Regions from separate parts of the Homo sapiens genome. Here region 1 is linked to region 2. The links are contacts of gene promoters, found by promoter capture Hi-C in blood cells and fetal thymus (Javierre and others, 2016). All regions are on one chromosome and are shown on one strand. The core of a region is centred on a gene start or on the middle of the fragment in contact, and the rest is flanking DNA. Distances in the headings are between cores, read along the strand shown. Region 1 holds the start of NAA20 (N-alpha-acetyltransferase 20, NatB catalytic subunit). Region 2 holds the start of ZNF133 (zinc finger protein 133).

Evidence for each region. Contacts are between HindIII fragments. The CHiCAGO score rates a contact against its expected background, and 5 or more counts as called.
Region 1: the fragment with the promoter of NAA20 here is called in contact with the fragment with the promoter of ZNF133 in region 2 in 6 of 17 cell types (naive CD4 T cells, total CD8 T cells, non-activated CD4 T cells and 3 more); the score reaches 11.1 in naive CD4 T cells.

The regions. Positions count from the first base shown.
Region 1 is chr20:20,016,069-20,018,768 of GRCh38, forward strand. It overlaps NAA20 (N-alpha-acetyltransferase 20, NatB catalytic subunit), which reads left to right and starts at 1,294. Exons shown (of 6, transcript NM_016100.5): 1 at 1,294-1,381. The coding sequence starts at 1,329. RefSeq lists enhancers at 801-980, 1,595-2,095, 2,557-2,700 and silencers at 1,301-1,370, 1,421-1,540. The HindIII fragment of the contact is 8,583 bases long and covers 1-2,700 here.
Region 2 is chr20:18,287,109-18,289,931 of GRCh38, forward strand. It overlaps ZNF133 (zinc finger protein 133), which reads left to right and starts at 1,419. Exons shown (of 7, transcript NM_001352452.2): 1 at 1,419-1,496. RefSeq lists enhancers at 992-1,041, 1,121-2,026, 1,132-1,471, 2,032-2,151. The HindIII fragment of the contact is 851 bases long and covers 1,022-1,872 here.

The DNA.
Region 1 (2,700 bases), core at 44-2,543, 1.7 Mb after region 2:
TGTGTCACCCAGGCTGGAGTGCAGTGGTGCAATCATGTCTCAGAGCAACCTCTACCTCCCGGGCTCAAATGATCCTCCCACCTCAGCCTCCCAAGTAGCTGGGATTACAGGTGTGAGCCACTGTGTCTGGTCTGAATAAAGGAATTTTTAACTTTTAATTTTAACTACTTTAAATTTAAAAACTGATGTTTGGTTCAGCGATTTGAAAACAGTATATTTGGAACCGCTTGGATATGAGAATCTGCTTTTTAACCATACATTGATGAAATCTAAATAGAGAACAAGCATTTCCGATGACAGCTGCTCTCTCAGATTGAAATGCACTGCAAATGTAAAATACACACCGGATTTCAAAGTCTTTGCAAAAAAGAATGTAACATATCACATTCCTTTTTTTATTGATTGATTACATGTTGAGTATTGATTGGTTACATGTTGAAATGATATTTCGGGTATAATAAAGTGGGGTCAGGGAAAAATATTTTTCCCAAATAGGAAAAATAAATGGGTAAAATAAAGCGTACTATCAAAATCAATTTTACATTTCGTTTTGCTTTTATTTATTTATTATTTATTTTTGAGACCAAGTCTAGCTCTGTCGCCCAGGCTGGAGTGCAGTGGCGAGATCTCGGCTCACTGCAACCTCCGCCTCCTGGGTTCAAGCGATTCTCCTGCCTCAGCCTCCAAGTAGCTGGGATTAGAGGCGCGTGCCACCACGCCCAGCTAATTTTTATTTCTTTCCTTTTTTTTTTTTTTTTAGTAGAGAGGGGGTTTCGCCATGTTGGCCAGGTTGGTCTCGAACTGCTGAACTCAAGTGATCTGCCCGCCTTGGCCTCCCAGTGTTGGGATTACAGGCGTGAGCCACCGCGCCCGGCCTTCTTTTTGTTTTTAAACGTGGTATTGACATTTTAAGATGACATCTGCAACTCGCAACACTGGGACAAGGGATTCTGGGTCATAAATTCTCCCATTCCTCATTTACTCTGCAGCACCGGGTGGCTGCGAACTCCGCTCTTCTGCTTGGGTTTCCGCATCACCAGCAGCTTCTTTCCTTCCCAGGTGTCGCCGCCTGCTTTCTGCAGCCGCTGCCTGGGAGGGGTTCCGAGGTTCTGGGCAGCCACAGCCCCGGAGGCCTTACAGGAGCGACCTGGCAATTCCCGCCGCCGGCCGCCAGAGGAAGCTGCTTTGCTGCTGTCGTTGCCCAGCAACTCGTAGCCCGGAAGCAGTACCCCGTCTCGCTCGGTTCCGCGGCGGCCACGCTCCGGGAGACTTCCGGCAGGGCGGGCGCGGGGTCTTGGCGAACGGTCTTCGGAAGCGGCGGCGGCGCGATGACCACGCTACGGGCCTTTACCTGCGACGACCTGTTCCGCTTCAACAACATGTGAGTGACACGCGCCTAGGGCCAGCCGCTCTTGGCCGGGCCTCGCTTCCCGGCCCCGCCAGCTCCGGCCCCAGCCGCGCCTTCCCGGCCGGACCCCAAGCCCGGACGGGGACCCGCGAGAACCACCCCCCGCCGGCCAACGTGGGCGCCTCCCTGGGGCCACAGGGTCCAGGGAGAGGTGGGCCTGGAGTCGACGCACGCCGGCCTTGGCGACCTTGGCCGAGGTGCTCAAACTTTGTCTCTGGACCCTGCGAGCTGGCAGGTTCTGGGGCAGCGCTCGGGCCTCCGCTCGTGGTCGCTGTCAGGAGGCGCTGGGGTGATGGGGCGAGCTGGAGACGCGGCCTGGAGCCCACGACCTGGGCTTCTCGCCCTGCCCTACTGCTTGCTGGTTCGTGGCCGGGCCGCGCCTCTTCTGGGCAGAGGGCACCGCCGACGGCCAGGCCGCAGAGGGGGCTTGCGAGGATCGGAAGCTGGTCAGCAGCTGTTGGGATGTGTACATCGTGAAGCCCACCTGGTGGCCGTGGTTAAATTGTATCCAAATGAAATGACACTGATCACTGCGTCCCCTGCAGCAGATGCTGTCTCAGTCATGGTTAGTGTTTGCAAGTTTAGTTACTGTAGCTGCGCACCCCGGTGTACACACCTTTCCTCTGTGAGGAGTCACGGCAGATCTTAGGGGAGGCTCGCTGTGCCCAGAGCCCTGGATGCAGTTTCTTTGGATTCGAGTTAAGGCCAGACCTCTGATTTGCAGGTACCAATTTTTTTTTTTTAAGAAAACATTTTATTATGAAGATTCCCACACATTTAGAAAAGTTGGAGGAATTTCACCATGTGCTTTTATAGACACTTTTCCTGGATTCTGCAGTTAACATTTTGCTACGCTGGTATCTCTCCTTCCTTCCCATCTATCAGTCCTGGATCCACTTTAAAAAAACAACAGGGCGGTATGTGAAAACTAAGGACAAAGTGGTTCCGATTCAAGTGTCAGGAAGATGGAAAGAACTATGGGATAAGATGGCTGGGAACATTTCAAAGAGGGGGTGAGCCTTGAAGATGGATAACACATTGGTAAGTGAGGAAGACGGAAGTTCCGGAGAAGGAGCGGGGCATGAAAATGGGGAAACTTGAAGTGCGGTCAGACAACTGGGATCAGTGCGAATCTAGTGGCTGGTTTCTGCCACTGAGCAGTCAGGAAGAAATGGGTGAAACAGGAGGGGTTTAGACTTGATCCTGTGGAAAGAATTTTCTGTTGGGCCAGTCTGGTAGCTACGGTGACTTGTGTTGAACTCACTGTTCCCTGCATTGTTCTGAGTGCCCAC
Region 2 (2,823 bases), core at 169-2,668:
AATCTCACTGTGGTCATGACAGTCCACCCAGTGGCTCAGACCCTGAGATTCTGTTCACACTTCCTACACTCTTCCTTACTCGTCTGTGTTCTTCCAACTCCTCATCTTGCCTAATTCCTCAGGCAGCACCTCATCCTGTAAGTCTTCATTTCCAGGCTTAAGAGATGTCAGCCATCTGTGTCTTTATTGTACAGCCAGCACAAGTGAACACTTGAACACAGGCATCCCTGCATTGTTGTTCTGAACCTTTATGTGTATTAACAACTAATTTCTTGGTGATGACTGACTCATGAGGCAGAGAATGATGTTGAGGGATGAATCCAATTGACACTGGACATGTCTCCGGAGCCAGGACTGAACTGAATTCACAATAAATAATGTAGCCTCGGGGTACCAGAAGGGAATGGATTCACCCTCTGAGAGCTACAAAAGAATTTTAGGAAATTCTCATCTCCCTGGCCCTTCAGACAGTGGTCATTTTCTTGGTCTTCCAAGAGAATGACAAAGTTTCAGAAAGCCTATCTGAGGAAGGTGAAGGGCAGTGAGAGGGTGCACGGGTGGAAAAGCCCTCTCAAGAGTGACGTGGGCCTTCCCCTCGAGCTCCCCAGATGGGGCGTCCCAGATGGCACCAGCGCAATCTTGTTCTCAACCAGGATCCCGGACAAAGACCTAGAGATCCAAGCCGACGGCAGGCCAAGCTCTGGCCCGAGACTGAGGCTTCTGCTTCTCAGGAGATGAGAGTTTAACAATAACTTCGTGGATTTCAAAAAGAAGAAAAAGGTCTCAGGGCACCGGAAAAGGTGTATTCGGGTTGAGGGCGTGGGCTCAGAATCGGGTCTACCTCGTACGGGATGTGAGACTTCAGGCAGACTGCTCGGCCTTTTCAAGGCTTTAAATGGAGCTAAAGGGTATACGACATGACGTTCGCCCGGTGTTTAGGAATATGGGGCGTGACTTTCCAAGCAGGCGGCTGGAGCCAGGGAGACCACAGGCCGCTGCAACACAAACCAGCACCTGAACAAGCTTGGTCAGCCAGCGGTACACCTCCGCCAACCCCAGAAGCCGAACAGATGCGCCCCGAAACGTCATTTCCGCGCGCCAAGGGGCGGGGCCGGTACCGGGTGCGGAAGTCGCTCCAGGGGTCACTGGGAAGTGTAGTTTTCGAGACAGAGGCGCTCAGAAGGAGGGTCACAGTAGGGCCAGGCACTCTTCTCGGGAGCTCCTACGTGTTTTATGCACGTGGTTAAGAAAAAAGAGGGAGAATTCAGGTGCCACAGTGGCCATTCTCCGGTGACCGGAGCGTGTTACTCAGAAACGGATCCGTCAGAGGCCAATGGGAGCTGCCGGCCTTCAGGGCGCGCCTGGTGGCGCCGAGCATCCTGGGAGGTGTGGTCCGGGCGCTGTGCCGAGGATTCGGGGTAGTGTAGTCCTGGCGCCCCGCTGGAGGAGCTCCCCAGCTGGTGGCTGGAGCGACCCCTTGTTCTTTGGTGGCGCTGGTGAGTGAGGCTCCCGCGGGACCCTTGCCGCAGCCGTACCCTTTTCTGCGCGAAAAGGAAGGTCCCGAAAGGCTGGACTATGGGCTGAATTTGGGGACCGTGCGGGTGGCGCGGGGGTGGTGATTGTGGTGGGAACGCGCTGGCGTGGCGCAGGCCGTCCTCTCCCAGATGTCTTATTTTGGGGGTGTGGGCGTGCATCTCCAGGGGAGTTGGGTGAAGCCCATCCGTGAAACTGGATGGTGATGAGTGGGGGATCGGGCTCTCTCTCCTAGGGTTCTTGTGGGTGGGGACAGGTTCGGCTTTGGCTGAAGTCGGGTATTGGGAAAGGGAGTCGCTGATGCCATAAGTCCCCGGTTTTGGGGGAGTTGAATAAATAAGCTTTTTGGGGGAATGGTATTTCCCAGGTGGTGGAATGGGAACCATCCCTGGGGCCATGTGTCCCCGAGGCATTGGTCGGTTGAGGGCTAGTCTCTTGGGGCCACACTATTCTTCGGCTTTGCTGGAGTGGAATGAGGAGCGGTCTGGCTTGACCAAACAAGCCAAGGTTAGACTGGATCTGGGGTGGCCATTTTGCCGCGATCTTAGGGTTTCACTTTGGTTGGTCACCCCCGGGTTCGGGCGTTGGAGGAGGAAGTCTGGCTGGGACGCACAGGACAGGTTTTTTCCAAAGGTCCCAGGGACCGTCATTGATCGCAAGAATTACGGATTCCCAGGCCCCTGGTGTGGCCAGGCTTTGGGATTTTACATTCCATTTAAGTTTTTATTGCGGAGAAATTTCAAACAGCCAGAAGTAGATAGAACTCTATAGACCAGATCTCCATCACCCAGATTCAACACTTAAAACCTTATGACCAATCTTGATTCATCTCAGAATGGACACAGAGAATCCTTGCAATCCAGAGTTCACCGTCACTGCCCTTACTGTGTAAGAGCACGGTCTCCACAGCCACATTTCCTCTAGGCTCTGTCACTTTATAGCTGTGTCACCTTGGGCAAGATGCTGACTTCACTGTACCTCAGTTTCCTCGATTTTATCCTAAAGAGGATAATAGCATCTATCGTATTGGGTTGTTGAAAGGATAGAATGAGGTGAAACTCCTACAGTGGCTGTAACAGTCTCTGGTGTATACTAAGTGTTCAGTGAATATTACCTTTCATTAATAACAGGCACAGAGAAGGTCGCTTCATGCTCAGCGTCAACAGCATATCAGGGCAGGTCGTGCTTTCAACCTGTACCCCAGCTGTGTTCCCAGGAAGCTGCCCGCAGTTCTTTTCTCCTTTTCTTCTGTGGCAGGTTCATTCCTGATGCTGTTAAGGAATAGGAGGT